4 separate regions of the Homo sapiens genome follow, and regions 1, 2 and 4 are each linked to region 3. Evidence: promoter capture Hi-C in 16 types of primary human blood cells and fetal thymus (Javierre and others, 2016). All regions are on one chromosome and are shown on one strand. Each heading gives the region's core, a stretch centred on a gene start or on the middle of the fragment in contact. The rest is flanking DNA. Distances are from core to core; before and after follow the strand shown.

The links. Contacts are between HindIII fragments. The CHiCAGO score rates a contact against its expected background, and 5 or more counts as called.
Region 1: a contact is called between a fragment that was not itself captured here and the fragment with the promoter of ZNF32-AS2 in region 3, in 1 of 17 cell types (megakaryocytes). The highest score is 5.1, in megakaryocytes.
Region 2: a fragment that was not itself captured here is called in contact with the fragment with the promoter of ZNF32-AS2 in region 3 in 1 of 17 cell types (M0 macrophages); the score reaches 5.5 in M0 macrophages.
Region 4: a fragment that was not itself captured here is called in contact with the fragment with the promoter of ZNF32-AS2 in region 3 in 2 of 17 cell types (megakaryocytes and total CD8 T cells); the score reaches 6.2 in megakaryocytes.

The regions. Positions count from the first base shown.
Region 1 is chr10:44,399,452-44,405,280 of GRCh38, reverse strand. It overlaps LOC107984179 (a long non-coding RNA gene), which reads right to left. Exons shown (of 3, transcript XR_001747298.2): 3 at 3,433-5,829. Among named protein-coding and RNA genes, the nearest start is that of CXCL12, 17 kb to the right of the region's middle. RefSeq lists enhancers at 4,237-4,980, 4,981-5,725, 5,726-5,829. The HindIII fragment of the contact is 951 bases long and covers 1,988-2,938 here.
Region 2 is chr10:44,435,059-44,441,226 of GRCh38, reverse strand. No RefSeq gene overlaps it. Among named protein-coding and RNA genes, the nearest start is that of CXCL12, 53 kb to the right of the region's middle. The HindIII fragment of the contact is 667 bases long and covers 3,764-4,430 here.
Region 3 is chr10:43,641,209-43,647,597 of GRCh38, reverse strand. ZNF32-AS2 (ZNF32 antisense RNA 2) reads right to left here and starts at 1,656. Exons shown (of 3, transcript NR_047558.1): 1 at 1,301-1,656; 2 at 389-486; 3 at 1-29. It overlaps ZNF32 (zinc finger protein 32), which reads left to right. Exons shown (of 3, transcript NM_006973.3): 2 at 1,396-1,534; 3 at 2,797-3,736. The coding sequence starts at 1,465. The coding sequence ends at 3,548. All of the region lies in intron 1 of ZNF32-AS3 (ZNF32 antisense RNA 3), which reads right to left. It overlaps ZNF32-AS1 (ZNF32 antisense RNA 1), which reads right to left and starts at 3,726. Exons shown (of 2, transcript NR_047557.1): 1 at 3,491-3,726; 2 at 2,551-2,748. RefSeq lists an enhancer at 763-1,962. The HindIII fragment of the contact is 3,514 bases long and covers 1-3,066 here.
Region 4 is chr10:44,306,757-44,313,399 of GRCh38, reverse strand. All of the region lies in intron 1 of LOC124902544 (a long non-coding RNA gene), which reads left to right. Among named protein-coding and RNA genes, the nearest start is that of LINC02881, 17 kb to the right of the region's middle. RefSeq lists enhancers at 634-803, 2,083-2,585, 5,536-5,745 and silencers at 2,172-2,501, 3,346-3,515. The HindIII fragment of the contact is 3,613 bases long and covers 1,154-4,766 here.

The DNA.
Region 1 (5,829 bases), core at 1,214-3,713, 760 kb before region 3:
ATTTTCCGAAATTAATGACAGACACCAGACCACAAATCCAAGAAACTCACAAGACACAAGTAGGATAAACATGGAAACAACATAAAAGAAACAAACAAAATACACTTCAACATATATTCAAATCTCTGAAAACTAAAAGCAAAGAGAAAAATCTTGAAGGCAGAGAAAAATGACACATTGCCTAAGGAGAAACAAGGGTAAGAATTACAACAGACTTCTTGTCCGAAACAATAACAATGGAGTGATATATTTAAAGTGTTGAAAGAAAAAAACCATTGGCCCAGAATTCTATAGCCAGTGAAAATATCCTCCAAAAATTAAAAAAAAAAAAGACATTCACAGGCAAATGAAAACAGACATAATTCATCCCAGCTGACTCCCTCCACAAAAAATCTTTAAAGGGACTTATTCAGGAAGAGGGAATATGGCATTGGTTAGAAAACTGTATCTACACAAAGAAATGAAGAGTGTTGGAAATGGAAAAAGTGAAGGTAAAATTCTCTTTTTTTCTTATTTTAAATTGCTCTAAAAGATAGCCAAAAATTTAAAACAGTAATGGTAACAATAGATTGTATATTCATAACTTATGTAAAAGTAAAATAAGTGACAACAGTGGCACAAAAGATAGGAGCAACAATTGGGAAGAAAGCTGTTCGCACTAGATGTGAAGTGATTTAACAGTACCTGAAGGTAAACTCAGATTATTTCAAAATGTATATTTCAAACCCTAGGGCAATCTCTAAATATATATATATATATATATATATATATATATATTACACACACACATATATACACACACATATATACACACACACACATATGTGTGTCTGTGTGTGTGTGTAACAAGTAAATAGAACAGATGAAATAGACTAGGCAAAGATTTATTTCAACTTAATCTAAGCAGGCAAGGTAGGGATGAGCACTGCAAGGAATGGGAAGAACCACTGGGTTAAATTCCAGTGTATTGTGTGGAATCAGTGTCCACAACTACCTAATTTGTCCATAGCTTGTGCAAAAATCAGCTCTTCCTTTTGTTACTAGAAAAGTCCACCCATAGAATGAATTCTCCGAATAATTTCCTTGATCTTTCAGTTCTATCACTAATCCTCCAAGTCAATAGTGGTCAAGCAGTTTCATCAAAAACACTAGGCAAATTTGGTAAAAGTTTGTTGACCAAAGCAAAACCTAAATGATGTGGGATATTTATTAATGACAAACTACCATATGCCTTATATTGTATATTACACTGATGGCTTTTATCTTTTTAATCCATCTTCTACTTCTAAACAATAAAAAATTACCAAGCAGAGAAACAGACATGTACAAAATTATCTTCTTACTGATGCAACATTCACTTCTTTAAACTGATTAATTCATTGATCACTCATGACAATGAAGAAAAAGAGGGAGGGAGAAAATAAAGTGATTTCTCCATCAGGGTTGTCAGAATTATTGAAATAGAAACTCAAAGTACTCTTATCAAATTTGGAATAGCAATTTCCTTTAGAAAAAAATGGGTATTTATTCATCAGGAGACTTTATCAACAGGAGAAATCATGAACATATGGCCAAGGCATTGACTCCCTTATAATGAGAATTTGGAATTCTGGTTGCCATGTAAGCCATGTCCAAATTTAAATAACTTCACCAAAAGAAGGAAATTTCTCAAGAGAAACCAAACTGAAAGCACTAAAATACAACCATGCAACTGTAAATTTTCGCATGGAAACCACTTCTCCAGATGGCTGGGGCTCTTGAGTACAGTGTCATTGCTCCAGAGGCTAATTTACTGTCTATATGAACTTGAAAATGGTTCTTCTTCAGTGAAAGTTAAAGTTTCCATCCTCAACATTGGCCATTAATTATGTTTTCCAAGGAATTTCTGGTCTTTTTTAATAAAAAATCAATATCAGAAGAAGTACACACTAAATGTTTTAAATGCTTGCTTTAAAGAAATAATGTTTTATTTTTATTAAATAAAGCTTTTTTTAATCTAAAAATGTATGAAGAGATACAATGAAAATGAAAGCTAACCAAAGGGCCACAGTGTCCAAACTGGGTACTTCTAACAAAGGAGGTATTCCATGTGGCTGCACAAGTGCCTATGGCCCAGCTGCTGGCAATGGTGATGGGAATTCAGAGGCTGATCATAATTGTCTTATCTTTGCTGCAGAGTAGAGGCTTCCACTCCCTCATTCAGCCCTGCACACTGTTGAGAAAAGCCCCCACAAACATGCCCTGAGCACTCCCTGCCTGCCACACACTGGGCTAGGTGCTAGAGCCCCGACCTTGAAAATGAAACTACTCTTGTTTCAAAGAGATACCATCCCGGAGAAGAGGACAGATTGATTTAGAGGTGACAAAGGATGGCATTTCAAGTAAATGTCAACAAGCCTCCTGCCCAGTTACTTCTCAAATGAACCAAAATAACTCAATATAGACAAAAGGAAAAATAATCACCTACATGGAACTAGGAAAGTCTTACCTCATTCCAAGTTCTCTGAAGACTAACCCTCAGATACACCCCAGTTGAAATTGAGCTCAGAGACACAAGGTCAGCACAGTCAGCCACCCCAGTGGGGCTGTGTTGCGGGGCTGACAGAAAGGCACTCTGAATGTCCAGTATCCCCCAGCATGGAGTAGGGAGGCCCAGAAGCTCGACCTGATTTGGGCCAGGAGAGTAAATCCCCTATTGTAGTTTCTTCCACGGGCGTGGACAGCAAGACTGAAGCAGAAACTTTTTATCCAACAGGGGATGGGCTGAGGTCAGGAGACATCTAACTTCATTGTAATAGGCAACAGGTGACTCTATTGGGAAAAATACACTGAAGTCAAATCACAGAAAGTTCAGAGCCACGGGCAATTTTCTAATCTGACTTCTCACCAAGGTGCCAAATGTTATACAACATCGTATCTAATTTCACCATGTGAAGCTTAAAATCAACATTTTGGTGTAAAAACGACATTCTTGCTTCTTAATTACTGGTGATGTTTTTTAGGAGGCAGAACACAGACTCTAGTTCAAAAGACAGAAACATTAAAAACCAAGGAAGCTTTCAAGTAGAAACACCAAAGCTAGGTCTTACAGTGTATATCTTATGCAATAAATATGAGTGTATAAGCCTAACCCAAAGGAGAAGGGACATCAGTCAGGACCAAAACAAAATAACCTAATTCCAGGTTACTTGTATTCTACAAAATATGAAATTAAAATAAAGGAACTTAGAAAGACTGAAAGCAGAATGAAGAGCAAAAATATTCCAATTCAATGTAAACAAATAGAAAGCTGAGTATCAATATTATACACAGTTACATTCATGACCAAAAAATATTGAAATTGTGTTCAATATAAAAAATATTGTATTTGACATAAATGTTCAACATAAAATATAAAATATTTTATAATATTTATTGCTTGATTGATTTAAAGATATAGCTGTCAAGAACCTTTATTTACTATATAGCATCATAGCATTAATAAATGTAGCAAAAACTGGAACAAATAAAAGGATAAATTTGACAAAGCACAAAATCATTGGAAGACTTCAGTGTAGCTCTCTCACTCAATCCTGTATGTCAAGAAATTAAGGAAGAGTGAAACAGAGAATCCAAATAATTCCATTAATAGATTGATCATATATATAACACACACATATATTCATATAAACATGTATGACATTTTATATATGTCCCCATGCCTTGTGTACAGAAAATGTGTATCCTTTTCTATTGTTCACAAAGAAAACCTCAAACTCAAAAGAAAAAGAAAAATAACAAAAACCACCTTCTTTAACATCAATAAAGGAAAACTAAAAATGCAAAACAAAATTTACTAATTGCAATAATAACACAGAACAATTCTGAACTTTTAAAAGCTCTTCCCTAAACAATACTTCAGTGAGAGAAAAACTGAAAGTCCCTCATGGAATTTCCTTAAAATCAATATTCCTTTTCATAATCTTTGGAATACTATTAAAGCTGTGTTCATAGAAAAATATATAGCCATTAATATTTTCAGTAAAAATATGAACCAATAAAAACAAATGAACTAGGTATTTTACATAATAATTCTTTTGATTAAGGTCACTAAAAAGAATATTAAAAATAGAATCACAGTGACAACAGAAAAGCCTCATACAATTGACCATGACATGAAAGGTATGTCTTTGGTGGCGGAGGAGAATGGAATAGAATGAAACAAAATGGAGTGCAACAAAATATTAATTCGCCCAGTCAAGGAAAACAAAAACAAGTAAAAGAAAAAGAAAGCAAGGAGAGAGAAAGGGGGAGGGAAGGAGGCAGGGGGCAAAGAAACAGAGTATGAGAAAGTACAAATAACCAGAGTACGAAAAAGAAGAAAACAGAATTACTTAAACATATCAATGACTCTGAAAACCTGAATGAAAAGCCGTTTTCTAGGAACATGCAAATGATCGAAATGGACTCAAGAAGAGATAGGAATGCCTAAATGGCAAATCAAACAGTTGTAAAAGAACTACAGCCCTCAAAAGCACTGGCTTCAGTGTTTTCAGGATGGGGTTTTTCAAATGCTGAATTCTGTTTAAACTGACCAAGAGCAAGAATGTTGGGGGAGGGGAGAGTCTGTAGATTCTTCTTTGGAAAGCTAATAGAATTCTGACATCAAAACCAAAAAAAGTTGCACAGAAAAAGGAAACTCCAGATAGCTCTCACAAACGCTGAGCATTGATCCTAAGTTAAATATTATCATAAATAAGAATAAAGAAATAAGAAGTGTGAAATGCACCTGTGTCAGTCAGCTTTGTGAATATCTTGCTTGGTCACTGGACCAAGCTACATTTCTGAAGCTGAGTGTGGGACTTCTCTGAAGGGAATGGATGGTCCTACTCAATATTGCGAAGCAGGAAGGAGCATTCAGGATGGGGCAGAGAGTTTGGGGGCTTGAACACCAAAACGTGGACAAACTTGGAACTTTTGTAGAGCTTGGATTTGGGAGGGAGATAGCAGATGGCTGGGGCAGAGACCACAGGGCAGGTCTGGGCCTTAGAGGTTGCAGACTCTTTAGTGAATTATTCTGCACCTCTATCATCTGGAACTCTCATAGAAGTGGAGGCAGAGAGAGCTGATGCCTGCTCCCAGGGGTGTAATGCAGAATGAGGACTGTGTTCACACTCGGGGACAGGAGTTCAGGGACAGTGCAGGTGGCCACCAGGGGTTCTGGGGGAGAATGGCGCAGGATCACTGGCTCACCAGGAGCCTGGTTGAGCATACAAGGACTTGAGATTGAACCTGGATGGCTGGGAGGCACTTTGGGAAAAAAAAAGGATAAAAAATGAAAACATAAAAACAGTATCAAAGAGAACTGTGCCGTGTTCTACTCTTTACCAAGACACTTTCCAACTTTCAGGCTGTTTTTTTATCAAGGTTCCAACAGTGACCACCCCCAGGGGCATGCCTCAGGCAGGCTGGGGGTTAGGGAGCCCACCCTTCCCCACTGGGCTCCCACACCGCATTGTCACTGGTCACTAAACAAGCCACTTGCCAGACCCCAGCCACTTACCTGAACCAAGCCTGTCCTTTTGCTAGGCTTTCTAACCTGAAGTGCTTTATTGGGGCCTGTGGGTCCAGCCCAGCTAGGGAACACCCCAGTGCCCTGCAGAAAGTGGTTTGTGTGAATGATGCAGAAAACCAAGAAGGTTACAAGGCAGAGCGTGATTGATTCCCTGGGGCTTTATTGTAATAACTTTAATCTTCTGGAACTCATCTGGTATGAATTTAGGAGCTGGGCGGCATTTCACTGAAATTCCCCATTAATGCAGCTCTCACTGCTCTGCCGGCCTTGGTGGT
Region 2 (6,168 bases), core at 2,848-5,347, 790 kb before region 3:
AACAGCATGGTACTGGTACCAAAACAGAGATATAGATCAATGGAACAGAACAGAGCCCTCAGAAATAACGCCGCATATCTACAACTATCTGATCTTTGACAAACCTGACAAAAACAAGCAATGGGGAAAGGATTCCCTATTTAATAAATGATGCTGGGAAAACTGGCTAGCCATATGTAGAAAGCTGAAACTGGATCCCTTCCTTACACCTTATACAAAAATTAATTCAAGATGGATTAAAGACTTAAGCGTTACACCTAAAACCATAAAAACCCTAGAAGAAAACCTAGGCATTACCATTCAGGACATAGGCATGGGCAAGGACTACAATACACATTTTTAATAATCTAAGTCCACATTCACATACTACTTTATGTGTAGTGCAGGTAGTTCAGAACAGGATATTCTTGATTCCTTCCTCCCATCTCTAAAAGGCAGCCACATGCCGGGCACTGCCCGCAGTGCAATGTTCATACAATAGTATGTGAATGCCTGGGGCAAGTTTGACCAGGACATTCATTACACCCCCTTTACAGAAGATGAAATTGAGGCTTAGAGGAGTTCAGTTCCCTTCATGGGTCACATCACTAATAAGGCCCAAGGCTGACAGACTCCAGGGCACAGAAAGGCTAGTGGGAGCCCATCCACTGCCCAGCACAGTGCTGAAACAGCAAAGGCTCACAAGGAAGGCGATCCACACCTGCAGGATGGCAAATGTCTCAGTGAGGAACTGGGATGGGATGGTTTGCAAAAGGAAGAGTGTGGCCTGGCTGGGATTTGACAAGCCAAAAAGGGGCTAATCTTTATTCATTTTTATTTTTTAAACTTAAATTAACAAAAGTGTGTGTCCTGTTTTCTGTGCCTCTGATATCCACAGGCACCATCATGTGAGCTCTCCTTTGCTGAGAACCAGTTCTTGTCTGACACTGTGGTGAGTGAGTCCTTGTGCCCTCCCTGGGACTTCCATCCATGGCCACACAGCAGGGGATAAAATCGAGGCTCAGAGAAGTAGAGGTCTTGCCCAAGGCCACAGCTACTTGGAAAGTCAAGACCTGCACCTGGCCTGCCTACCTCCCAAATCAAGTTCCCCTGGCTCCCCTCATGCCTCAGGCCTGAAACAATTGCTACCATAGCCCTTCCTCTAACGGGATGAGCAGGGAGCCCCAGCTGGGGCTTCCTGCAGGGCCTGGGGCTTCCCGGGCCCCCTGCATCTGGGCCATCTGGTCAGCGGACCCAAGGTCACAGCAACAAGCTCACAGATCCGAGTAATGACCCACACTTGAGCCTAGTGAGTCCCATTCTGAGGGCTAACGAGGTGCAGAGGCCTCAAGAATTCCTCTGCCAGAAACATCAGATGGAAGCTGGTACAGTTGGCCCAAACACCAGCCAGGGGACAGTTTATCAGACCACCCAAGAGGCAGGAATCCAAGCCTGCTGGAAAGGTCTTTCTGAGGGCTGGACCCAGCACCATGGACCAGCCTGGGGTGCTCCGGAAACTCCTGGAGATGGCAGGCTGGCCATACCCCTCGCGGCAGGGCTCAGGTGTTGGGGGTGTCTGGGGAGCAGCGGTCAAAGGGTGGGTGGCTGGTGTGATTATGACCTGCATTTGCACCCTGATAACTCCTAGGAGGGCCTGCTTGGACACATCACTTGGATTGACTGTCCCGAGTGGTCCCTTCTGAAACGGGGGCCAGAGGGCAGGGCTGGGAGGAGCACTCATGTGCCTTGGCCAGGGAGTCTGTGCAGACACCCTCCACTTGTCCCTACAATCCTGGGCACTGTGTTGCAGTGAGTCACTGGGTTGCTTGCTAATAAGGAGAGAGAGGGAGCACGGCACTCTGGGTCTGGCTGCAGAATTGAGCTTGCACATCAAATGTGGGGTCCTAGGAGGCTTTAAAAGAAGGAGCCAAGAGATTTCAAATCCACATCATTTTCCTGTGAGTGGCTTCCCCAGGAGGATGCTTCAGGGGTTCTTGACACCTCTCCTCCACTGCCTCACACTCTCCCTGAGTGGGAGGAGTCCCACCTGACATTCACCCAGCACCTATTCTGTGCCTGGAGCTGTGCACAGTGACTTCCCCACCCCTGTGGGCTCGGCACTGTGGCTCACCTCTGTTTCATGGATGGAAAAGACAAGATCAGAGAGGACATCAAGGGGCAGCCAGTGGGGCCCAGGTCTCTCATAGGCCAACCCCAGCTCTTCACCTGCACACCCCACCCTAGACAGACACCTTCCCTAAAGCCCACCCTCCCCCAGAGCCTACAGTCTCAGAGAGCCAGTGCTGGGCCCTGGGAACTTCTGGGCACCCCGATTATGTGTGTGTGTGTGTGTGTGTGTGTGTGTGTGTGTGTGTGTGTCACATGCATTGAGGGTTGAAGGAAGTTGACTAAGGAAAGAAAACAACTAGTCACAAATAAAAGAGGAATTTCCCAACTGAAGAAACATGTCCCTGAAGTGAGTGTGCTTTCAGTTCATCATGTCAATGCAGCACTTTTCTTCTGCTTCATTTGCAGAAAAGAAACTGCAACTTGGAAGGAGAAAAGGCAAAATGTATTTTTGTGCATTCAGCAGAAATAGCCAGGCCAAGCAGCCGGACACTTTTAGGTGACACAGATGAACCCTGCAGGGCGCTGACGTCAGGCCCCCTCAACCGAAGACTCATTCCAGGGAAGGTTGGGCCAGACCCACAAGCACCCTAAGGGCTGCACCAAAGTGAACCTGAAAATGCAAAGTACTAATTCCTGAATGTTGTAAGACATTGTTCTCTCAAAATATAAAAACAAGAAGTAAAACTTCTTGTCTGAAAATAATGCTGACAAAGCAACAAGTTCTCCCAATCTGAATGCCTCATCCTCTCACCAAAGTGACATGTGAGTGATTCTGTGGGGAAAAAAAAAAGGCATTGGAATATTGCAGAGCATGAAAGGCCACACAGCAGGGGAGCAGCTCCTAGAACATATTATATTTCAGGGGCATCTGCTTCCTGTGTTTTTGATTACATTAAAGTATTTCATTTTCTTCCCCAAGACATCCCAAATGCCTTGTGTGCCAAAACTCCTCAAGGGGCTATGCGTGTTTGGTAATGAGTTAAGTCCATGACAATCCCAGAAAGAATCATGGACTGGGGCAGAGCCCTGGGGCGCAGGGGTACCAGGCCAGGTTCTGGCCCCAGAGCTCACAGGACTTCACGGGGCATCAGAGCAAGTTCTCCAGGGAAGGCTGCCCTGTGGCCACTCCCATTCTTGGTGCCGGGACATGCTGGCCTGGTTTCCTGCTCATCACTTTACTTCAGCACTTACCAAAAGGTCTCATAAATGGTGGCTTACATCTAAAACTAGTGTGTAAGCCAGCAGTTAAAATTTTCTTTTCATATGAAGACAATGTAAGGATGCAGGAAAAACAGTTTATGGGTTCTCTCTATCTCTCGGCAGAATGTCATTTTTATCTTATATATATATTACCTGCAACCATGTATAAGCATTCTTTTATTAATTCCATGTTAACAGAGAGATTTTCCTTCTGGCTACAGTATTCCCAGCCTTGATGCAGAAGGCCAGCGGTGGGCCATGTCATGAAGCTGGGAGGAACCCCCAGGGCCCATCAGCTCCTCCAGTACCAGCCAGGCCCTGGGTTTAGGTGATAAATAAGTCACATGAGGTCCCTGCCCGGAAGTTTATATTTCCAGAAGGAGAAACAGACAATAAATAAGTGAATAAATTGACCATTTCAGGTCCTGATAAATAATATGAATGGAAGGAAGCTTGCTGTGTTCAGGGAGCAGGAGAGGACATGGCCAGGGACACCAGGTCCGGAGGTGTGGGAAGGCCTCTCTGAGGGAACGTACTTGAGCGATGTGAGGGAGACACCCTGAGAAGAGCCTGGAAGGCTGTCCAGGAAGGAGTGGAGTCAATGCAAAGGTCCTGGAGTGAGAAAAAACAGCTTCATGTTATAGGAATCTCACAGTCAGTGTAGCTGGAACAGGGCAAGTGAAGGCATGGCAGGAGGTGGTCAGGGCCTTACAGGCCACGGTGTTGGGATTGGATTTTCTTCTGGAAGGGACAGGAAACTACAGGTGGTTTGGAGTAGAAGCACATGGAGATCATAACCCCAAGCACTATGGGAAGTAGGGTAGGCAGCAGTAGGAGCTCCTGGGTGGGAAGGCCAAACAGGAAGATGGCAGTGCCCTCCGTGAGATGCGGACCCTGTCTAGGTAGAACAGGGCTGTGGGGATGGGGCAGTTCTGGGGTAGGAACCAACATTTTGGTATTAGACATGCCACTTCTGCAGATGTTCCTTTAGAGAGGAGCAGAGAAGTGGGATGGTGGTTGCAGGAGGGATGCGGAGTCAAGATGACCCTGAGAAGACCTGCACGGGGGCCATCCAGGAAGGAGTAGGGTCAGGAACAAGGTCCTGAGGCAGGAAACAAGCTTCATATTCCTATTTTTAAAGACCAAGCTTTCACTGCAAGCTGATGTGCTGTTGGAAAGATGCAGTGGCAAGGGAAAACCTGCTGATGCTGGTGATAGAAGTGATTGTTGCAGGAGCAGTCAGAGGTCTACACTCGAACCTTAAGGAGCAGGACTCTACTTTATGCCACTTTATTTCTCCAGCATGAACAGAGTGCTGAGGAAGCAAGAGCCAGCACATGAGACCCAGCCTAAGGGTCCCTGGAGAGCTTCCTGGGAGAGGTAAAATCATGCTGAGAAGGGCAGGCCCAGCAGCAGCTTGCCAGTGTCAGGAGGGAAAAGATGCTCCAGGCAAAGACAGCTCATGTTCAAAGGCCAATGCACATGAGAAAGAGCTGGGCATGGTTGGCCACAGGTGCACAAGGATGCTGGGAGCTGAGGTGGAGGGGAGGGGAGGACCAAGTGAGGCTTGCAGGCTGTACCAGCAGGTCGGATTTTATCACTAGACAGATCACCCTAGCAGCAGCAGGGATTACCTCTGACTTGAGAGGCAGGGGACAGGGGTAAGGCAAACACTGGTGGGAGGGATGGCCTTGGAGAGGCAGCGCCAGGTATCCACAGGTGAGGGTGGGCCAGGAGACAAGAGGGCACCAAGAGCAGATTAACTGCACTCAGAGGCAGCTTCAACCAGCTGGATAAGTAGGGAAGATACAGCAAAGGATGGGCCTGGGGTTTGGGTGACAGTGGTGGATGAGGCTACTCATTGAGAAAGGGCACTTCATGGGAAGGATGATGGGGCTGAGGGTGCCAAGGCAGCAGTCAGATCCCTGAGCACACTAGCCCGGAGGCCACAGATGCAGGGGAAGAACAAGTGGCTAGGACAGGGATGGAGCCTTCCATCCCAGGGCCTCTGCAGGGAATTGGCAGTCTGCTGCCTCTTCTCTGGTATATAAAGGCAGGTGAGATATGTGGATTCCCGTTTCTCCCTCAAGAACCATGAAAATCCTATGAATGTTATTTGAGAGACATTGCATTTTCTTCCTAGAAAGTGGGGACCCCAGCTATGCCTTGGAAAGATCTCTCTCACTGCTAAGGGAAGGTGCCCTGGAGGAGGGAGCCTGGGGACGAGGGGTACACAGGCAGGTGGTCATTAAAATAATGCAGGAAGGAAGCCATGAGGCTAAACCAGGCAGAGGGCAGGAGGGCAGCAAGGAGGGAAAGAGCTCTCGCTGTGGCAGAGGATGCATGATCAGGATTTGGTGAAAAGTGAGGCAAGGGGAAGAGGGAAGAGCCAGATTCTAACGTTTAGGTTCTGGCGGCCAAGGCATGATAGTGCCATTGAAATGTGAGTTCAATATCCCTGCAGCTACCGGAACCAGGGTGCAGAGCAAAGCAGAAGCCAAGTGAAGTTGATGAGCAAGCAGATCTGGACAGAAGCTGGTGTGTCCAGTCTAGTCCCAGCTTGTCAAGGACATGCATCACCACTGCTTCTCTCAGTCCACAGAGGTTCTCACCTCGGATCCATCTATGCTTTGGGGACACTGGACAGTGACCCGAGTGGAAAAAGAAACATCTCTTTTGACTCCTCGAGCTGATTCCCCACTTGGGGGTAGGAAGGTGAAATACCTGAGACTTTGCAACAAGCGAGGCTGAGGCCACAGGAGGCTGAGGCTGAAAGCCCCGGCCTTCAGGGCTACTTTAGAGGAGTGAAGAGCAAATGTGTCTGTTGGTCCCAAAGAGCAGAGGTCCCTGGGGGCCCTG
Region 3 (6,389 bases), core at 407-2,906:
AATGTGCAGTTGTCAAGAAGAACCAGGTGCTTAGGTTGACAAAACAAAGAATGGTAGCATCATACTATTATTTCATTAAATCAGAAGGCCAGCATTTTGATAGGACAAATTAGAGGGAAACAAGGAGTATGCATTGAACCACTGCATTTCTTAAAAGTATAAGAATTCAGTAATTAGGATCCTGAAGTAAGAAGAAATATTTTTTTTAAAAAATAGATCATGTGGGCCAGGTGTAGTAGCTCATGCCTACATGTCTTGGGAGGCCGAGGCAGGAGGGTCACTTCAGGCCAAGAGTTGGAGACCAGCCTGGGCAGGATAATGAGACCCGATCTCTACAAAAAAAAGTTAAAATAATTTTTAAAAATTAGCCAGGCTTGGTGGTGCTTACCTGTAGTCCTAGTTATTTGGGAGGCTGAAGTGGGAGGATCCGTTGAGTCCAGGAGTTCAAAGTCACAGCAAGCTGTAATTGAGTCACTGTACTCCAGCCTGGGCAACAGAGCAAAATCTTGACTCAGAATTTTAAAAAAATTAAAAAATAATTTAGAGCACATACAAGAGGATTCCTAGGATCTGAAAGAGCACTTCAATCTGGTCAAACTCTCTTCCTTTCTGTTCAATTTTATAAGCATTCTGACCAGCTCTTTAGTGATTAGGAACTAGACAACTGTCTAATGTAAGAGCATACATTTTGGATCCAGAAAGTCTTGGATTTGAACCTTTGCTCCACTTTGACTCCTTATTTTCTGTGGGTTTCTGGGCAAGTTACTTAACCTAGTTGGAGTGCCTTGGGCTTGGAGTCCAGAGTAGGTCTTTCTTTTCCAAGAATTGACAAGTGTTTACACTTGGTCAGAACTGGTATTCTTGTATCTTCAAGAGCAAGAGAAAGGCGAGTCTGGGTCTGGAGCCTCCTAAGAATTGTTCAGTGGTAACAAATGGACTCTCTTGTTAAGTCTTTGTAACTACAGATAACTGGAGAGCTGATTGGCTCCAACCAATCATGAAGGCTGAAATGTTGTTTTCTTAGATTCTGAATTCCTCTGGGGCTTGGAGGGAAGAAAGTAGTAGGTGGTTAGGTGGGGAACCAAAATGGAAGATCCCAATTACATGCCAAGACCAAAGTGTAAACAGGAGTGACTATTAACTTGGGATTGGCAGGAAGAGATATATGTTTATGTGTTCTCTGCTTTCCCACATCCTGCTTCCTCCTAGACTCATTTGTGTGTGGTCCTGGTACCTTTGGGCCCATTTTGCAGTGATATTTTAGTAACTGACATTATGTCAAACAATCTAGGTTTCTTACATTCACTTATGTCTCAACAACTGTTGACTTTTTCCTTCTCACATATCAATTATTCTGCCCTTTCCTGTTTGTTTCTGTTTGTTTTTCTCCCTCAGGTGCTCAGGAACAGCCCATGGAAGAATCATATGAAGAGGTGGTGACTGAGGTCGTAAGCAGGAGTGGACATGTTTGGATTTCCAACAGCTACCCTGCTGGACTGTCATGGAAGATATGCCCAGAATGTAGCGTTCTTCAGTGAGTGAGTCAGTTGATGGCTGGATGCGCTCAGCTCACAGATATTCAGTGTCCCTGTTCTCAGCACTGGTCGGCAGTCTGAGGAAGCAGAGGAGACCTTGCTTTGGTAGAGCTTGCTGTTCCTAGGGTTATAAGAAAAGCCTGTGAGCTGGAGTTAGAAGTAATAGTAGAAACAGAGCAAGAGAACCATCTTGATATGGAGGTAGCGTTGAAGTAGTCTCTGAGAATGAATGAGCAGCTTAAATCTCAGCACTGTCTCTGAATAAGGCAAGGGAACAAGGAGAAGATTACCCTGGAGTGACAGACACCAAGAAAACTGTTAATGGTGATGAATGGACCCATATTTAAAGTGCACCAGGAGGCTCAGATGCAGGGCAGTATTCGGAAAAAAAAAAGTCAATATCTGCATAGAGAATAACTTCCAAACCAAAATTGATTTCAGTTTTGCCATAGCTTAGTAGACTGAAAATAGCAAGGATTTTAATGGGAAAAATTCCTTGGATCAGATTCTATAATTGCCATGGCTAGATCTGCAGTATCAGACAGGTTATTTAACTTCCTTAAGCTCCAGGTTCGTCTGTAAAATAGGACAATAAGTTCTATCTTGTAGGGTTGCAGGGATTAGCAATGATAGATGTAAAGTACCCAGGATTGTGCTACATATTTTCTGAGGTCATGGTGCTTATTCTATTGTCAGAACAGATTGGACAGAGGTGGATTTCTGAAGAAGCAAATGCAGCTTCAGTTTTAGGACCCCTCACTTGGATTGGTCTCTCCAAGACCCTGTGCTTAATTTTATACATTTTCTTAAAAGGGTGCCTCTAAAATGGGAAAGTTTTAGGCCTTATATAGCCTGGATCCACACCTGTTTTGGAGTCAGATAAAAGTTGGGTATGGGGCTCTGTGTGATTCTGTATAGTTTTCTAAATTTTCTGAGCCTGTTTTCTGACCTGTAAAATAGAGAAAACCATGTCTATCTTACAAGGTTATTTGTTGGCCTAAATTAAATTTAGAGGCAGTACACTGCTATGGAGAATGCCTATTTGAGTCAGCTCTAACTTACCTAGCTCTGTGACCTTTGACAGGCTCCCTTTGCTCCCATTATCTGTATCACTCTCATGGCATTGTTTTCAGGATTGCATTGTCTATGCAAAGAATAAGGCCTGGCACATCATAAGCACTCAAAGTATTATGTTTCTTTTTCCCTATTCTAACTCAGCATTATTGGTGCTTCTTATATGACTTCCCTCTCATTTTATCAGATGTGATGACTGAAGCCCACCACAAATATGACCACTCTGAGGCTACAGGATCCTCAAGCTGGGATATCCAAAATTCTTTCAGAAGAGAGAAGCTGGAACAAAAATCCCCAGATTCGAAGACACTACAGGAAGATTCACCTGGAGTGAGACAAAGGGTCTATGAGTGCCAGGAGTGTGGAAAATCCTTCCGGCAAAAAGGTAGTCTAACGTTACATGAGAGAATCCACACTGGTCAAAAGCCTTTTGAGTGCACCCACTGTGGAAAAAGCTTCAGGGCCAAAGGCAATCTTGTTACACATCAACGGATACACACGGGAGAGAAGCCTTATCAGTGCAAGGAGTGTGGGAAAAGCTTCAGTCAACGAGGTAGTCTCGCTGTCCACGAGAGACTCCACACTGGACAGAAACCCTACGAGTGTGCTATTTGTCAGAGAAGCTTCAGGAATCAGAGTAACCTTGCTGTTCACAGGAGAGTTCACAGTGGTGAGAAGCCCTATAGATGTGATCAGTGTGGAAAAGCCTTCAGTCAGAAAGGAAGCTTAATTGTTCACATCAGAGTCCACACAGGCCTGAAGCCCTATGCCTGTACCCAGTGCAGGAAGAGTTTCCACACCAGGGGGAATTGTATTCTGCATGGCAAAATCCACACAGGAGAGACACCCTATCTGTGCGGCCAGTGTGGAAAAAGCTTCACCCAGAGAGGGAGTCTGGCTGTGCACCAGCGAAGCTGCTCACAGAGGCTCACCCTTTGACCACTTTCCTGAAGAGAAGTTCTCTTTATGAATTAAGAGTACAAAATCCTCTGAGATGAAGCAACCTATCCAGTTCTATGGAATGAATGGAGAATCTTTCAGAAAGACCATCATTGGGTAGGGCAAACTGATTTTTTTCCTTTCCCCCAAAAGAGTATGAAAAATAAATGTCTTGTTTATTATCATTATCATGTATGTTTTATAATTTCTGTCACTTTATTCTGACCTGATTTTTCAAGGTACCCCCATTAATCTGGTGCCACACTAGAGATTGTTCTGTGTATACCCAATACAGATTTTAAATTTGTAGTTGACACCATCAGGCTTTTATAAATGTAAAAAATCAGCCCCTCATCAATCCCAAGTTATTTTTCTTCCTTACATATTCAAATTAATCTTGTTTTGCCTTCAAAACCACTGGGCAAAATCCATGGGGCAAATCTAGTTACCTTTATAATCTTCTTGTTGAACATTTCATTACCTGGATGATACCCCCAATAACCTATTGTAACTAATCACTCATGTCTATAGCAAGGGGCCTAGCCTTTTATTACAAAAGAAAATTTCTTTCCAAGCCTGCACAGCCTTAGTTTGTGCATTGAGACATACTTCAGTCCTCCACTCCTAACTAGGATAGAGATAATTCACCTGTAACCAAAGAGCAAACAACTACTGTCTGTGCAATTTTTAAAAATCTTTAACCCATTTCTCCCCATCTACTAAAGGGACTCCTACATTTTCAGAGACCTTCACTCCCTCTTTGGTAACAGCAGCAATATCTTGGGGTTGGGTTATCTAGAAAGGATATAAGTGTTATTACTGAACCCAGACTTGTAGTTTGTAGTCAATAATGAACTTCCACTTTCCAACAATACTATCCTCTTCCTCCTGCACACACACCAAGAAATTTGGAATTCTAACCCATCCTTTTTTCTGACCTCCAGGGGATGAGATTTGAAGAAGGCTGCAGAGGAGAAATTGGTTTTGAGGGGAAATTTCCATTTCCATTTTTTAAAATCTTAGCCATCTCTATAATTTTTCATACTGAGCATTTATGTAAGTGAAATGATGAATGATAGAGATTTTGGTTTTCTTGGTAAGACACCATTCCATCCTTTCTAGTGGATCCTATAAATCAGTGGTCCCCAACCTTTTTGGCACCAGGGACCAGTTTCATAAAGACAATTTTCCCACAGAGGGGGATGATTTTGGGATGATCCAAGCACATTACATTTATTGTGCACTTTATTATTATTACATTGAAGTATATAATGAAACAATTATAAGGTACTCACCATAAGGTAGAATCAGTGGGAGTCCTGAGCTTGTTTTCCTGCTACTAGACAGTCCCATCTAGGGGTGATGGGAGACAGTGACAGATCATAAGGCATTAAATTCTCATAAGGAGTGCACAACCTAGATCCGTTGCATGCACAGTTCACAATGGGGTTCACACTCTTATGAGAATCTAATGCTGCCACTATCTGACAGGAGGCAGAGCTCAGGTAGTAATGTGAGCAGCAGGCAGCAGCTGTAAATACAGATGAAGCTTCGCTTGCTCTCCCACCACTCACCTCCTGCTGTGTGCCCCAGTTCCTAACAGGCCACAGACTGGTACTGATCCATGGCCCAGGGTTGGGAACCCCCTGCTATAAATTATTGCTTCCTTAATCCCAAAAAGCTTGTAATAGTAAATCTTTACCATGTAGAGAGGTAAATTTCAAAGGTCTTTGAGCACTGAAACAATTTGGAAACACTGGATTCTAATAATACAAAAATATTCCAAAGATACCACAATAACATTTGAAGCTGTATACAAGAATGTTCATGTCATCTTCATTTATAATAGCCACACACTTAGAAATGTCCAACAATGGGTGAGGGATAAAGAAACTGTAGTATATCCATACAGTGAAATACAACTCAGCAATAAAAAAGAACATACACGTGGTACATCAACAATATGGATGAATCTGAAAGTTTTATTTGAGTTGAAGAAGCCAAATACACAAATAGTATAATTCCACTTATGTGCCTTCACAGAACAGGAAAAACTATGTGTGAGGATTGACTTGAAAGGCACGCAAGGGAAGTTTACAGAGTGAAAACAATGTTCTGTACCTGACATCAGGCAGTTGATGCAGGGGTCTAAACAATTACCAAAATTCATTGAACTCGATGCTTAAGATCCGTGCATTTTATTACATGTAAGATATACTTCAGTAACCATGAAACAGTATAAATGTATTGCCCACAAGCTCTTTGACACTCATCCCATGAAGAGATGGGGGGTATGTCACCACCACTTGAATCTGGACACGCTTGTGACTGCTTCAAACAATAGAACACAACAGAAATGATACTACACCAAGTATAGTTCTGAAAAGCCTCTAAAAGGTCTGAAAAATTTCTGCCTGGTTCTCTTGAGACACTTCCTCTCAGGTGAAACCAGCCCATGTAAAAAGTCCAGTTATCCTGAAATCACTGTCATGGACAAGCTGCATATAAATGCTCCAGCCAACAGTTTCAGCTGAGCTCCCAACAGCCTGCCAGCCATGTGTGAGGGTCATTGTAGGTTTCCGGCCCAGTAGAACCTTCACATGACTGCAGCCCCATCTGACATCTGGCCAAAACTGCATGACAGACTCCAAAGTGAGACTGCCTCACCTAATCCCTGACAAAATCATGAGAAAAATGAAACATTATGGTTGGATACCACTAAATTTTCAGGTAATTTGTTATGCAGCAATAATAGAATAACTTAAGTACTTTTTAAGGATAAGCCATTGTAAAATTTATATATAGGAAAAATCTGAGGCCAGGCACGATGGCTCACGCCTG
Region 4 (6,643 bases), core at 1,711-4,210, 660 kb before region 3:
CAGAGGATGTAAAAGATCCAGACAGACCTGGCTTTCTGGCTGCTGCATAACAGCATGTTCATTTGAACGAGTGGCTTGAGCATGCCAGACCTGGGTCTTTCTCATCTGTAAATAGAGTAGTACATCTATCTCAGAGATATGTTATAAGAACTCAGCAAATTGCTGAAGCCCAAGTCACAGATGCATAATGAGTGAGTGTCAATTACTATTCTCATTAGTAGCAGTAGTACTCTTACAAAAGTCAGTTACAAATCTCAGAGACCATAGGTCTATATTGTAAGTGATGACTTGCGGATGTTGTAGAAGAGTTGGGAGTGATGTTTGGGATCATCCCATCCCAGCCATTCACTAAACTAGGAAGCTGAGGCCAGAAAGCAGGACAGAGCAGACTCCCCATACCCAACCTCCTGCTCCCCAGCACTCCTCCACCTCAAGGACACATCTAGGCCTCAGCCATCACTGCAGTATAGTTTCCAGTGCAATGAAAATGCTACATCTTCTCTCTCCTTAAAAATATATAGTAGTAAATAATATGTCTTATATATTTAAAATACTCATTATCTCCTATAGGATCCTTGTCCTACATACCATACACATCACACACATATTCAGGCACAGCCTGAGGAGGTGGGTGTTCAGCTGTATTAAAAACAAAAGTTGTAAGAAAGAATAATAGTGTGAAATCAGTGCAGGACTATTTATGATTAATATCAGGAAGCCCTTGTTAAGAATGCCATGTATTCTTAGACTAAAATACCCTCTGCAGGGACATGGGGAAACCCCATGACTTGAGACACTTCTGCTGGGACAAGGCATGGCTAAGCACAAGAGAGGAACAAAGCACCCGCCGCCTCAGGGGACCATCAGAGACAAAGCTTGAGTCCCAGGCTCCTTTCTGAGTCAGGAGTGCATAGAGTGGTTGTTTGAGAACTGAGTGTGCCTCTGTGTGCAGTCGTGGGACCTCAGTGTCCAGCCTGCCCAGCAGAACAACAGGCTTAGAGACCAGGAGAGGCAATGACAGGTGTTCTGTCAAAACCGCCCAGCAGGGCAGCAAGACGCTAGTGCAATTACTGGGCTGCACATCAGGGAAATGTGGTGGACTTAGTGTCTCTGGATTTCTGTAAGGCATGTGACAAGGTGACACGAGGAAGCTTTTTGATCAATTTAAAGACAATAGGTTAAGATCTTCATGGGCTCCTCATAAAAGCCTTGGTAGTTTGTCAAGCAATCTTTCACAAAGGGGAAAGGGGCTGTGCAGCCTCTTTACCGGAATATGAAGCTGGATTTCGGTATTTTAACAGCACTAGGACATACGAAGGCTGCCTGTCAAACTCACTAATTAGATGGATCTGGAAGCCATTACAGATATATTGGATATTTAAAAACATCACCATCCCAAATGATTAACATAAATGAGAATTATGGACGTGGTAAGCCAGGATGAACTTTAGTGCAGAAACTGAAGATACACCCTTAGACTGAACAGCAATAATAGCAGCTGTCTGGCACTCGTTAGGAATTAAATGTTCGCTGGATGGATTCAGGGATGGGATTACTTAGTAGAACATATGAAAATGAATAAAAATTGAACCTAAACTCAGAGCGCATGAGAAGTGTGAAGATTCTGGCACATCGACTGCTGTGACCTCTGCCTGTGTGTCTGAAGGCCAGCGGTTAGAGTCCCGCAGGCGACGTCCCGTCCTGTGCAGTGGGCAGACCCTACCTGCAGGCTCAGGTGTACTCCTGGGCACCACAGTGGAGAAGGGACTCTGTAGATGGTTTGTGTCCTAACGTGAGTCATCTGAATGGTGACGCTACATCATACCACAATGATTGGAGGGCCCGGGGAGGTTTGGGCAGAGCAGAAGAACTGGGGTTAGGTGGTGCTAATGCTGTGTTGAAATGCTTTAAGTGCTGTCATGAGAAGCTAAGCCCTTTGCAGGCGAGACCTGGAGGGCAGAGGTAGGACAAATGGAGTGAGCGACAAAGGGCTCAACATAAGGAAGCTGTTTCTAATGGTCAGCGTTGACAGCAATGCAGTGGACTGCTTGTGAGCTCCCCATCACGCAAGTGTGCAGGCAGAGAGGCTGAACCGCTGCTTTCTGCGATGGCAGAAGGCGATATCACGTGGGCGTGCGGTCAGCAGGGCGCGTGCTCCCCCTCCTGTGGTGGAGCCTGGAGGCAGCCGCCCGCCGGCCGTGGCCGGTCCAGCAGAGGGCGCGCTCCGAGCCGCGCGGGCAGCGGGTGATGCAGGCAGGGGAAGCGCGGGCCAGGCAGGAAGCATACAGCGCAGGCCGCGCAAGGGCAGAGACGTCCTCACCTGGCCACCGCAGCCGCGCAGACCCCGCAGGTAGCCGCGGCGGAGCTGAGCGAAGGACATGGCGGTGCCCACGGGTGCCGGGGCCGCGCCGGAGTGCACTGGACCAGCCGGCCCCGCGCACCCTCCCCTTCTCCATGCAGTCCCCCAGGGGCGTGCAGCATCACCGCCCCGGGTTCTCACCTTCCCCTCCGCCTCTGGGGCTTTCCCTTGCACCTTTCTGGCGGGCCGCTCCTGGCCTGCCTGCCTCTCCCACGCTGGGCCTGCGCACACCCGCTCATCCTCGACCTAGGATGGAGAGATGGGCACACAGGCAGGGGCCCGAGGGCCTTTCTCGCCCTGCCCTGGGGAATCCGCCCTCAGGAATGGGCCGCGCGGGGCTCCGTGTGCATCTGTTGGTGTGTGATGAAGGGAAGCCCAACCTGCCCTGGTTACGAAAAACATATATTTTAGTGCCAAATCTCTCTGGTTTCCTGAGTGGCTTTTCACCTTCACACGTCATAGAGCGAACACTGCTCTACAGGGTTTTGTGGAGGGAGGGATGGCGCTGTTAGACTCAAATGCCTACTTCCCCTGGGGTTAGCAAATTCAGTAATCTTGGGCGATCTCCCCACAGTAGAAAAAGGTTAAAAAGTGGAAAAAAGAAAAAGACCACCACACTTGACCTTCCAGGGCCAAATCTCCGGTCTCTCAGTCACACCAGGCAGCCAACCTTTCACAGAGATACCGGGACATTGCTTGGGCACACTTCAGCTTTATGAAACAAGGACATTCCCCTCTATCCTCCTGCTAAAGTCCGCCCCGCCCCTCAGCCCCCTCACTTCTGCCACCGCCATATCCCCGCTAGACAGCTTCCGCTGACAAGCCAGCCTAGGGCCACCCTGCTTCGGAAGCGTGTGGGCCCTCCAGGCTTCCATCTGCGGACTGCACATCACAGGGAGGGAGTGTTCCGCACCAGGCAGGGTGAGTCCACAGTGGCTGCACCTGGGGCCAGAGGCCGAATGGGAGGGTGGAGTGCTTACGGTGCGCACCTTCTCCTGGTCAGGGGGCGGGGAGCCGGCTGATGCTGCCCCCGCGTCCCCAGCCACCTTTTGGCTTTCTGAGATGGTTAATTTTAGGTGTCAACGTGACTGCGGTGAGGATGCCCAGATGGCTGGTAAAACATTATTTGTGAGTGTGTCTGTAAGGGCGTTTCTGGAAGAGATGAGCATTTGAATCAGTGGACTGAGTAAGAAGGTCCACCCTCACCAATGTAGGTGGCACTGGTCAACCTGTTGGGGGCCCAGAGAGAACAATGGGGCAGAGGAAAGGTGAATTGTCTCTCTCTTCTGGAGCTAGGACATCCACCTTCTCCTGCCCTCAGACATCAGAGCTCCTGGTTCTGAGGCCTTTGGATTCTGGGACTTACACCAGTCCCCTTCCTCCCTGGATTTTAGGCCTTTGGACTGGCCTGGACCTGCTTCCAGCTTGTAGATGGCGTGGCCTGGAATTTCTCAGCATCCATAATTGAGTGAGCCAATTCTCACAACAGCTCTCCTCATCCAACTATATCTGTATATCCTATCGTTTCTGTTTCTGTGGAGAAATCTGGCTTGCTCTCTCTCCCTCTCTCTCTCTCTCCCTCCCCCCGCCACCTCCTTCCCTCCCTCCCCCTCTTTAATATAAAACCACGTGGATTACTCTTCCAAAGTCACTCTGATTATTTGGGCCATATGATCTTTTCAGTGGATAAACTGTCTGTTTATGATTGAAAGAGGCCACAATTCACAGGACTTTGCTTGTTACAAACTCACTTTATTTCATTTTTCTAGGCAGCCAGCAGCCCCAGATGAGCAGCAACACAACTCTTATTTGTACCTGGCTGAGCAGCACGGCCGCATATGCTTTGCCATTCCACTTCCCAATGGCAGAGCCATGTAAACTGGAGCCTGGACCAGGGGAGGGGAGATGCAGTCAGTGAGAGGGATCCAGGACAGGCCTCCAAAGCCAGCTGCCTGCCAGCAGGGTGGGGACACCCATGAAAATCCAAACTGCCCGCACGGCTTCCATCATAACAAGCTATCCCTGATTGTAACACTTGATTCTTGGAGGGAAAAAGAGCAAACAAATCACCCAGCTGCAAAACTATACTTTTAAACAAATTGTCAAGTAGACAGTTTGGAAGATTTCTGCCAACCATTCACTGGAAAAATGAGAAGAAAGCTGATGGGCCCCAGATTTTTTTTTTAATAGCAGAGTGTTCTTGTATGTGTTTGTGTTATGAAAATTTAGCCAAGCTAGGTAGGTTCACAGAGAAGGCTGCCACTCTGCTTCCCTGTCCCAGGTTGACACCTTTACTGTCTTTTCCTGTTTCTAGGCTTTATCTAATTACCATATTGCCAGCTGGTTGACTGAAACTATTATTAACATTGAAGTGATAGCAACCAAATATCAGCCAGGATGCTAAGCTTAACCCTGCCAGTTGCTTAGAGATCCAAAATGTTGGCGTGGGAATTAGCTTGTGATAATGAAAAACACAAAGTTGATATGTAACCAAAGCATCAATTGTTAATGAGCTCTGAGATGTCCCATGCTCCCATGGAAAGGATTGGCATATTCCCTTTTTCTGCAGTGGCCAAGTGCAAGCCAGAAGGTTGCTCGCCGTGCAAGGACTTAGGTCCAGGAGAGCTACTCACCTTGAGGACGCACTGCCCACTGGATGAACTATGCATGTTGTTCTGGTTCAGAGGCAGATAAGGGGACAATGGGAAAGGCTGAAAGGACAGCAGAGATAGAAACAGAAGATTCTGTTAACAACCATCCATGAGGGTTCAGGGGCTAATGGTCTTTGTGACCACTACCTAGGGTGGCAATATCTAGCAATCAGTGCTTTCTTTTTAATATTGTTTTTGCAGTTGCAAGAAATAGACACTGGGTGCTTTTTGACTAAACTATTTCAAAAGGTGTAGAAATCTCGGTGCCTTGCTGGGCCTGGAGGGACTGCCCCTCCCAGGCTGGCCAGTCCCTAGAGATGGTAAATGACTTCAGCAAGCACAGCTTTCCAATGCAAACCAACCACTCCAGAGCCCTCCCAACCACCTCCTCCGTTGGGCTCTCACCCTCTGGGCCACGGCCACCTGCCCTAATCACCCCAGGGCCAGGCACCAGGCAACTCATGACACCCCTGTGTCCAGAGCCCACTAAAATTATTCAAAGTAGTCCATTCTAAGTCTACTTGTACTGCCTTGCTGGTTCCTTCTCACAAAAACCACATTAAAGGCTCTTGCTACAGTTCCCCCCACACTTCTAACCAACACTGGAGTTTCCCCATGTGGTCCCCCATGGCACAGCGTGGCCCCCATGGCAAGGCATGTACCTCCTCTCCAGATCTGTGCATGACAGACTATCTGTTCAACAGCAGTCCCCTCCTTATCTGTTGGCCTTGCCACACCTAAATGAATAAAACCTATGTTTTAAAGCAACCATGTACCCTGGGAGTCAGGAATGACAAGCATGTTATTTATTATTTCTGTAGGGATTTCTCTTTAAAACGTTCTTTATGAAAAGACAGCAACTGTCTCTATGCTGGAAATACAGAAAATTGATCTTGTGTCATTTTTTAAATTAAAGTAATAGACATTCATAGCAACAAATCAAATACAATATTACAAAGGGTTTATAATACGAAAGAGCAGCCTCTCACCAGATGCCACCCCAGCCCAGAACCACAATACAGAGATTTTTTAGTATTCCTCTTAGTAATTGTCCTGAGGCCTATCCCACAGTTCTAAATAAAATGCTTTATCTCTGTTGACCTATTTATCCACATCGCGTCAAGCATATAGAAGATTTGCTTGCCTGACAACCAAACCTTTCCCGCCTCTGTTCTTTGAAATGTTTGAGAATTAGATTATTTCTAGCATCTCTCTTGATAATATTGTAACTTCAAATAATACACTCATCCTTTTCTTTCTATTTCCATTTACTTTTGAGTTAGCTTGGATGTTGGTCCCCTCCAAATCTCATGTTGAGATGTGAACCCCCAGTGTTGGAGGTGGGCCTCTGGTAGGTGTTTGGGTCATGAGATGGATCCCTCATGAATGGTTTGGTGCCCTCCTGTGGGCACTCTTCTAGTTCTCACTCAGTTAGTTACTATGAGACCTGATTGTTAAAAATGGCTTAGCACCTCCTCCCCTCCCTTGCTTCCTTTCTCGCCATGTGACACACCTGCTCCACCTTCACTTTCTGCCATGATTGTAAGCTTCCTGAGGCCCTCATCAGAAGCAGGTGCTAGCACCACACTTCCTGTACAGCCTGTAGAACGATGAGCCAAATAAGCCTCATTTC